Linked DNA regions of Homo sapiens: region 2 is linked to region 1. Evidence: promoter capture Hi-C in human tissues and cell types (Jung and others, 2019). All regions are on one chromosome and are shown on one strand. The core of a region is centred on a gene start or on the middle of the fragment in contact, and the rest is flanking DNA. Distances in the headings are between cores, read along the strand shown.

What was found. The method cuts DNA at HindIII sites, captures the fragments that hold promoters and counts their contacts. A contact is called where the count stands out against the background at its distance.
Region 2: a fragment that was not itself captured here is called in contact with the fragment with the promoter of SGSH in region 1 in 1 of the 25 tissues and cell types used here (H1 embryonic stem cells).

What each region holds. Positions count from the first base shown.
Region 1 is chr17:80,218,003-80,222,874 of GRCh38, forward strand. SGSH (N-sulfoglucosamine sulfohydrolase) reads right to left here and starts at 2,331. Exons shown (of 8, transcript NM_000199.5): 1 at 2,224-2,331. The coding sequence starts at 2,311. SLC26A11 (solute carrier family 26 member 11) reads left to right here and starts at 2,425. Exons shown (of 18, transcript NM_001166347.2): 1 at 2,425-2,494; 2 at 2,914-3,113; 3 at 3,546-3,792; 4 at 4,653-4,845. The coding sequence starts at 3,559. RefSeq lists enhancers at 1,373-1,492, 4,150-4,872 and silencers at 2,293-2,562, 2,583-2,652. The HindIII fragment of the contact is 8,333 bases long and covers 232-4,872 here.
Region 2 is chr17:80,373,849-80,378,720 of GRCh38, forward strand. RNF213 (ring finger protein 213) reads left to right here. Exons shown (of 68, transcript NM_001256071.3): 50 at 610-741; 51 at 1,912-2,022; 52 at 2,453-2,695; 53 at 3,034-3,115; 54 at 3,914-3,948. All of the region lies in intron 1 of RNF213-AS1 (RNF213 antisense RNA 1), which reads right to left. Among named protein-coding and RNA genes, the nearest start is that of ENDOV, 39 kb to the right of the region's middle. RefSeq lists a silencer at 2,708-2,908. The HindIII fragment of the contact is 4,243 bases long and covers 402-4,644 here.

The DNA.
Region 1 (4,872 bases), core at 1,081-3,580:
GGTACCCAAGTGGGCAAGATACTCATGCAGGCATGATGACCCAACAAGCTTGATGATACCCCAGCAGGCATGCTACCTGGGTGGGCGTGTTAGCCGGCTAGGCATTTAGGCAGACAGCGGCTGAGCGCATGGCCACAGAACTGCTGGGCAATTCTGGGCTCAGCGGAAACCGCATGGGGCAGAGGGCAGGAGAGCCTCGCCCAGGGCGCGTCTAAAGCTCTATGTGTGTGCGTCCCACCGCTGCTTCTCACTGATGCCATCTCAAAGGCCTAGTGACCTTGCAGGTTGTCTATTTCAACCCTTTCATCCTACACAAAGCAGCTGAGGCCCAGAAAGGTGAGGTGCAGTGCCCAGGGCCACACACTGGGCAGCAGGAAACAGGGACAGGCCGCTGAACTCCTACAACCACACCAAGCTTCTTCCCCCTGCTCTGGAGTAGAGGACACTGGGGGCACCACAGGAGAGGCTGGTGGGAACCCCCAGACCAACACTTTCCCCAGCTCCCTCAGAGGCAATGTGGTCCATGGATGGACAGAGGAGGCTGGGCACCTTCCAGTTGGGCTTCCATCCTCCACCCCACAGTACCCACAGGTGTGAGCACATGGCAGCCACGTAAACCTGGAGGGAGAGCGGGATGGGCTGTGCTCCGTACCCGCAGGCCAGGAAGAAAGCTGCCCTTCTCCAAACCCAGAGTGTCTCGGCACTTGGCTGTGGGCCTGCTATGGTCTGAACTGTGTCCTCCCAGAATTCATATGCTGAAGCCCTAACGTCAACATCACTGTATCTGGAGACAGGGTCCTTAATTAAGGGTAAATGAATCATAAGGATGAGATCCTGATCTGACAGGACTGTGGACTTAAAGGAAAAGAAAGAGAGGGCCGGGTGCAGTGTTTCATGCCCGTAAGCCCAGCACCCGGGAGGCCAAGGCAGGAAGATTGCTTGAGCCCAGGAGTTCGAGACCAGTCTGGGCAACACAGTGAGACCTTGTCTCTACAAAAAATACAAAAATTAGCCAGGCATGGTGATGTGCACTTGAGGTCCCAGCTACTTGGGAGGCTGAGGCAGGAGGATCGCTTGAGCCTGGGAGATTGAGGCTGCAGTGAGCTGTGATTGTGCTACTGTGCTCCAGCCTGGGTGACAGAGTGAGACCCTGTCTCACAAAAAAAAAAAAAAAAAAAAAAAAAGGAAAGAAAGGAAAAAGAAAGGAAAAGGAAGTGAGACCACCCCCATCCGCTTGTCATGTGAGGAAACAGTGAGAGGGTGACCACCTGTAAGCCGAAAGTGGACCCTCACTGGAACCCAACCAAGCTGGCACCCTGACCTTGGATTTTCAGCCCACAGAACTGTGAGAAATACATTTCTGTTTAAGCCGATCCATGGCAGTCCGTGCTAAGAAAGGCCCTAGCCCAGGGGCCGCATAGCCTGGACTCTGACAGCCTCCTGTAGGAATTCTGATCCGCAGGTGAGGGTCCATGCAGATTCTCTGCTGTGTTTCTGGGAGGCGAGGAGTTGGCAGGAGAGCTGTTTATGTTACAGTGAGCCGAACCCCCGCCCAGAGACCACAAAATTAATCAGAAAGAGGGCAACTGGCAGGGCGCCAGACCTCAGAAGGGGAAAGAATCGCAGGCCTTGGGTTTGGCCTTGTCACTTGTCATGAGCCAGAGCCTTGATTACCTAAACCGGAAGTCTTGTGAGCAGCACGGTGCTTGCTCTGGAGGAACCTGGGGTTTCTGAGAGGGACTGGGGTTGGGGGAGACGGTGGTGGGTGGGTGGTGGAGGGCTGTGCCCTTGGGATAAGGGAAAAGACAGCTGAGACACAGGCTCTGGGGTCGGAAATGAGAGCCAGGAGGGCACCCTGTCTGCAGTCTCTGGGGACCGGAGCACCAGCCCCTCCTCTGGGATCCCCTCCCAAGAGGGATTTGAGATCCGTGGACCCCTGAGCCCTGGCTGGGCAGGGTCAGAGGAGGGTGGGACAGGCGGCACGAGGTAAGTGTAGGGGTGCTGGATGCTGGGGCTCACTCCTCCAGCCTTTGCTGCCCTCTCTGGGGAGACACCCGTGAAGAGTCTGGGGGCGGCACAGAGAGGAGGACGAGAGGGAATGGCAGCGGGGGATACAAGGGCAGGGCACACTAGGGTCAGCATTGACCACGGGTGGGGAGGAGGCCAGTGGCCACTTCCCCGGGCCACCGCAGGTGGGCGTGGGGGGGCGGCGCCGGCACTCACCGAGGAGCAGCAGTGCGTTCCGGGGACGCGCCCGGCAGAGCCCCAGGACTAGCAGCAGCGCGCAGCAGGCGGGCACGGGGCAGCTCATGGCGGCGGCGGCTCGGACTCGGGATCGGGATCCGGCTCCGGCTCTCTGGTCTCCCGCTCGGCCCCGCCCCCTGCCCCGACCCCGGTCACGTGCGCGCCAGACCCCGCCCCGGCCTGTCCCCGGCGATTCCTGCGGACCCAGCTGCGGCGACGCCAGGAGACCCCAAGCTGCATCGCCGAGTGGGTGAGTCCGTGGCCCGCGAGGGCGGCGAGCGGGGACCAGGGGCAGGGGGAGCGGACAGTGGCCGGGGTCGCCGGGGGCAGCCGACGCGGGGGCCAGCGCGGAGTCCTGAAGTGCGGGGGCCTCCCGTGGGGACCACTCCCCCGCCGCGTCCCTACCCGGGTCCCCGCGGCCCTCGGCCTTGCTCGGGGCCAAGGGACCGCGGACGGTCAGGTGGCGCAGGGTCTCCTCCGGAGACCCCAGGATCCGGAGCCAGCGGCCTTGTGGGCGGGGCCGGGGGCCGGGGAGTGGATTTTGCCCGGAGCGGAGCGGCCGGGGGCGTGGGGGGCTGGGGGTGAGGGTGGCGGCTCTGCGCGCGGGCGCCGGGGCCCTGGAAGATGCTGCGCACCTGAATTAACCGGGCGCCTCTGATGTCCTCCCAGAAGCAACTAGAACTCCAGGGCTGTGAAAGCCACAGGTGGGGGCTGAGCGAGGCGTGGCCTCAGGAGCGGAGGACCCCCCCACTCTCCCTCGAGCGCCGCAGTCCACCGTAGCGGGTGGAGCCCGCCTTGGTGCGCAGTTGGAAAACCTCGGAGCCCCGCTGGATCTCCTGGCTGCCACCCGCACCCCCCGCCAGCCTACGGTGCGCCCGCGGGCCCAGCTTCTCTCTGCGCTGCTCCCCGTTAAATTCCCTGGGGAGACGGAAAAAAAGGCAAAGGAAGTCGGTTCTCCAGGGGCCAGAAGTGTTGAGCCTAATTAGTCTTCAGACTTCTCAATGAGGAATCGCTTATCAGTTTCTTATCTGGGAGAGTTGAGGATGGAGGGACAGAAGGCACCCAGGATTTGCACGGGGGGGATTCAGGGAGAGAGGGTGATGAGGGACGGGGTGGGCCTTCCAGTCTTGGCCCAGTCCCCATCTTGCACACATTGTTGGCTTCCTCTTAGAGCCGTTCGCCCCCCTGGGGAGGGGAGACCCATAGTGACCTCTCCTGACACCCGCCGACCCTGACCAGTGTTGCCGGGTTCTTCAAAGGCCACGCTCTGACTGCTGGTCTGTGTCACCTGCACCCCCCAGCCCCACCGTAGAGATGCCTTCTTCGGTGACGGCGCTGGGTCAGGCCAGGTCCTCTGGCCCCGGGATGGCCCCGAGCGCCTGCTGCTGCTCCCCTGCGGCCCTGCAGAGGAGGCTGCCCATCCTGGCGTGGCTGCCCAGCTACTCCCTGCAGTGGCTGAAGATGGATTTCGTCGCCGGCCTCTCAGTTGGCCTCACTGCCATTCCCCAGGCGCTGGCCTATGCTGAAGTGGCTGGACTCCCGCCCCAGGTGAGGCGTCTGACCCTGCTGCCAGCCATATCTCAGAAACAGTGCAGAATACACAGTATCAATCCCAGACACCATCAGCGATTCCAGGTTTCCAGCCCCTGGGCCCCAAGGAACCTTTGGTTTACAGTGTGTGACGCAGATTGTCTCTGGGCCGACCCAGGCTCCTATGCCTGTTTGGCACACACAGACACTGAGCTGGTTATGGAGGGGCCAGCGAGATGACTCATGGAGGCCTCAGGAGTTCAAGACCAGCCCGACCAAAATGGTGAAACCCCGTCTCCACTAAAAATACAAAAATTAGGCTGGGTGCGGTGGCTCAAGCCTGTAATCCCAGCACTTTGGGAGGCCGAGGCAGGCGGATCGCAAGGTCAGGAGATGGAGACCATCCTGGCTAACAGGGTGAAACCCCGTCTCTACTAAAAATACAAAAAATTAGCCAGGTGTGGTGGCGGGTGCCTGTAGTCCCAGCTACCTGGGAGGCTGAGGCAGGAGAATGGCGTGAACCCGGGAGGCGGAGCTTGCAGTGAGCCGAGACTGTGCCACTGCCCTCCAGCCTGGGCGACAGAGCGAGACTCCATCTCAAAAAAAAAAAAAAAGAATGCTTCCTCAGACTTGGACACAGCACACGGGCCTGCACCGACCCCTCTGCCTGGCTGTCTGCACCCTGAGGCCCCAGTTGAGTGCTGCTAAAAAAGTGGCCTCCTGATCACTGCAGGTCCACCCACAGGGCAGGGCGGTGCACCTTTAACCTGGGCCTGGACACAGCTGACACCCACACATCCCGAGCTTGGACACGCACACTAGGGAGCTGGTGGATGGGCCTCGGCCTCCTGAGTGCTCACCACCCTCTCTCCCCACAGTATGGCCTCTACTCTGCCTTCATGGGCTGCTTCGTGTATTTCTTCCTGGGCACCTCCCGGGATGTGACTCTGGGCCCCACCGCCATTATGTCCCTCCTGGTCTCCTTCTACACCTTCCATGAGCCCGCCTACGCTGTGCTGCTGGCCTTCCTGTCCGGCTGCATCCAGCTGGCCATGGGGGTCCTGCGTTTGGGTGAGGCTCTACCTTCTTGCCAAGGGG
Region 2 (4,872 bases), core at 1,273-3,772, 160 kb after region 1:
AAAAATTAGCTGGACATGATGGTGGGTGCTTGTAATCCCAGCTAGTCGGGAGGCTGAGGCAGGAGAATCACTTGAACCCGGGAGGCAGAGGTTGCAGTGAGCCGAGATTGCACCACTGCACTCCAGCGCCTGGGCGATAGAGCGAGACTCCGTCTCAAAAAAAAAAAAAAAAAAAAGAGGCTTCAAGGCCTCTCAGTGGTCCTTTCCAGATACCCAGAAATTAACAAATTCTTATTGTCCAGGGGATACAAAAATGGTACTAAGAACCCCGGCACTGTTTGACTACCACCTGGGGTTTAGAGTTGACATGACTTGAGCCACCCGGCCTCAGGTGTGGTGCGGTGCGCCGCAAACGGAGGAAGCAAGCACCTCCCCAGGTAGCGCTGCCGTCGGCAGGCATTCCCTGCACTTGCACCTCTTCGTCTACTGAGGAGGAAGCTCCCTGCGAAGAGGGCACCAGACTGTCCTGCCTCAGGCCAGGTCAGGGAATCCCAGCTTGGCTGCCTTTAAACCTCGAATGATCAACCACCTGGTTCCTGTACCCGTTCAGACGGTTCTTTGCAAGACATTCCTCCCATTGTTCACCCCCAACTAACCTCTGTATTCCAGGGGCTGCGGCAGGACCACCCAGGCCAGATGGATAGGTACCTGGTGTACGGCGATGAATACAAGGCTCTCCGTGATGCTGTGGCCAAAGCTGTCCTCGAGTGCAAGCCACTGGGCATTAAGACTGCTCTGAAGGTAGGATGGGCCCGTGGCTTCTCTCTGATACCAGGTGGCATCCCTTGGAGCCTGCATGTTCCCTGGTTTATGTCAAATGATGCAGGGTGATGGACCACTGATGCAGCCCATCACGTGACACTGTATTGGAAGTCACGTGCCCACAGCCTCCAGGGCGCACCTGGCTAGTGTGCGTGAACCAGTGGCTGGAACAGGACAGCTATGACAGTTGAGCTGGGTTGACAGATTTGCTGTGTCTTGCTGATCTGCCAAGTCCATCAGCAGCGCCTTTTGATTTATGCCCATTACTTCCTTTGAGACCCTGCTGGAAAACAGTCTAAGAAAGATGCTGACACAACTATTAATAGCAAAATTCATACCTAGATGTATTCATAATTCAGATATGCATGTGTGTTTAATAAAAATACATATGTTGGTGTAGTGTGGGAAGTTAAAAAATATAAAGATGTTTTTAGAATCTAACCTTTAAATTGGTCTGGTCTTGCTTCCTTTTTGAGTCCCTGTGCCAGGAAAAGAGGAAATGGAAAATCCTCTTTCTGCTCAGAAGTTTCTAAGACCAGTGAAGGAGTCAGAAGAACAGATGGTGATTCCGTTGCTTCTGTCATTAAGCTGGCTGCTAAATATGCGTTGAGTTTAATCTGAGAGTATTTCAGGAACTTTGTAGCCCAAAAGTTGCTCGCCAGAAGACTGCCCATGTGGGGCATGACCCCAGGTGTCCAGGCCTGGAAAAGGCTCCTTCCCTTTTGGTGGGTTGAGGGCTGAGGCATGTGAAAAGTTTCTTTTCACATGCAAACTTCGTGGGCCTCTGGCCCTTAGGTAGATCTGGCAGGCAGCGGTGCGGGGGCGTCTATCCTATAATCCTAGCACTTTGGGAGGCCGAGGCATGCAGATCACAAGGTCAGGAGTTTGAGACCAGCCTGGCAAACATGGTGAAACCCCGTGTCTACTAAAAGAAAAAAAAAAAGAATTAGCCGGACATGGTTGCGTGTGCCTGTAGTCCCAGCTACTCGGGAGGCTGAGTTAGAATCGCTTGAACCCGAGAGGCAGAGGTTGCAGTGAGCCGAGATCATGCCACTGCACTCCAGCCTGGGTGACAGAGCAAGACTCCATCTCAAAAAAAAAAGATGTGTTGAGCTTTTAAATTCTTACTTGATACCCTTGATTTTGCAGGCCTGCAAGACCCCCCAAAGCCAGCAGTCAGCCTACTTCCTGTTAACACTGTTTAGAGAGGTGGCTATTTTGTACAGATCCCACAATGCAAGCCTCCACCCCACGCCAGAGGTGAGTAACCGCCTGCAGGGCTGTGTTCAAAGTCTCAGTATTTGGAGGGATTTTATTGAATAGAATGAAAGTTATCAACACAAATCATACCATAATTTTTTTATCTAGGATAGAGGTTCTCAACCTTGTTATGTGGAGGAACACATAACCAAGCTGTTTAACCCAAAGCTTGTAGAATTATAATGAAAACTAAAGCCAAGAACATAAGATAATGTTTAACAGAATAGAATATCAAAATTAATGCTTACGTATGTGGATGCTGTGTTTGTATATGCACAATTCTCTTCTCTGAAAAATTTCCCCCTCAAATGGTGGTGATTTCTCCATATTTACCTTGATATTTGATGTGTATTTGGTGTCAGTGTATGTCTAAGAGCAATTCACACAATATTCTTTGATACATCTTAATGTTAAGTTTTTTTCCTGTCAGCAATGTGAAGCTGTGAGCAAATTCATTGGCGAATGCAAGATCCTTTCACCTCCTGATATCAGCCGTTTTGCAACATCGCTCGTGGACAATTCTGTGCCATTGTTGAGGGCGGGGCCTAGTGACAGCAACCTTGATGGAACGGTGACAGAAATGGCCATTCATGCTGCAGCCGTCCTTCTGTGTGGACAGAATGAACTCTTGGAGCCCCTAAAGAATCTGGCCTTCTCCCCAGCCACCATGGCGGTAAGAGTAGGCCACAATTCCATCGGCCTTCACTGGAACACCCCCCAGAGCTTGTCACTGTAGAGACCGAGCTGCAGCTGTGGGAACTCTTGAGCATCTTTATCTCCTCAGTTCTCTGCCTTTGTGTCACCTGATTCTTGAGCACACAAGATAGTGACAGACTTGCCTTGCCCTTTGTTATTTCACAGGAAGCTGTTCTGTTTTCTTCACAGACAGCTTGAGAAGTCCAGCAGAAGGAAAGCAGAGTTCCCTTTCTTCCTCTAGGCCTCCTGCTGAGCAGCAGCACCCAGGTGACAAGCTCACTTATCTAGAGCTGTCTCTGTCTTCTTGTTTTTCAGCATGCTTTTCTTCCAACCATGCCTGAAGACTTGCTGGCTCAAGCTCGGAGGTGGAAGGGTCTGGAGCGAGTCCACTGGTACAGTAAGTGTTGGGGTCTAGATGACCCCACACTCCTTTGAGCTTCAAAGGGTGTCCAGATGCTATGAAGCATTGGGTTCGACTTGGGGTCCACGTGGTTTGTGCCTCAGGGTCCAAAACCACCTGCATTCTACCGGTGGCGTCTGCAGAAGACGAATGGCTTGAAGGAGCTGGCACTCCGCCGGCTAGATGATCCAAACCATTTCATTTCTTTGTCGTGTGGAAAAGGCCCTCTGTGATGCACTTCTGTTCTCTGGAATATGCCATTTTGGGAGAAGGGAGGGACTGGGAACCACATCAGAGACGCATTCAAAGGCCCACCACAAAACAAAGTTTTTGACACAAAGCTCTTCTGAAATATATGAAATATAGAACCGGGAGACTGACTCATATAACCCATGACATGTAAATTTTGCTGTTGCCTGAGTAAATATTTTAAAACTAGTTTTTAAAGTTGTTATAAAATATGCTCATGACAAAAAAAAAAAAATCAAGGAAAATAGAAAGGTCTAGAATCCTGTCCACCTTGCCTCCAAAAGTACCCCTGGTATGGGCCTATATTCTAATTGCTCTTTACTTGATAAAATTAATAAAATTAGACTCAGACATTTTTCACTGACAACATACATTTATTAAGCTTCAGGCAGGTGTCATGTAACTTAACAAATTAGCGTGGGATGCTCTGGACAGTCATTCTCATATTGTGGTCAGGGCCAGAGAGTAGAGAGTTAGCTTTCCCTTTTCAATGTGGGTCATTGGGTGAAACCTCATTAGCCAATGTGTGTCCTGTTCTCTTCACAGCTTGTCCCAACGGCCATCCTTGCTCCGTGGGAGAGGTGAGTCTTGGTATTTAAGATAGGGTTTGAGGGGTGGCGTGCACTCCTGGGTTGGAGGAGGGGGATCGTGGGTCAGGAGAGTGAGGCTCTCGGCCTTCCAGGAGAGCACAGGCTCACCGAGGACTGCCCAGGGTGCTCTGAGCAGGGCAATGCCAATGGCGCTAAGGGTTTCTAGCCCAGGGCTTCTCAGACTCAGCACTGTGGACGTGGCTCTGCGGCGTGGGCTGTCCTGTGCACTGCAGGCTGTCTGGCAGTATGCCTGACCTCGAGTCCCTGGATGCCAGGAGCACCCACTCCTCCCAGTGTGACAGCTAAAACCAGACATTGACAAAGGTCCCCTAGGAAAGAAAATTGCTACTGGTTGGGAACTGCTGCTAGCCATTCTTTCTAGCCACTGCAGCATGGGGTCAGTGAGCCTTGTCTTGATAGAATGGCAAGGTGTTGCCTGGACCACAGGCTGCATTATTAGCCCTCAGAGGAGGTGTGGTCCAGATGCCAAAGGAAAAAGCCACGTGTAGGCTGTGCGCCATGGGGGAAGAACTGTTGATTATTCCTCTCTGGATTCCCAAGCATCTAGCCTAGAGCCCTCCATACACAGTATCTGTACTTGCTGAGCAAGAGGCTGGTGGGTTGAGCTGACACGTGGTAGTTAGTTATTAGTATTACTTACTTGGTTGAGATATGTCTGGCTCTCTTACCCAGGCTGGAGTGCAGAGTGACATGATCATAGCTCACTATAAACATTGAACTCCTGGGCTCAAGCGATCCTCCCGCCTCGGCCTCCCAAAGTGTTGGGATTATGAGCCACTGTGCCCAGCCTGATACACGTCATTTAATAATGTATATAAGAGATACGGAGGGAGAAAAACTGTTACATACACTTCATTTTTCTGAGCTTCAATCACTTCCTTGTCCATGAAATGA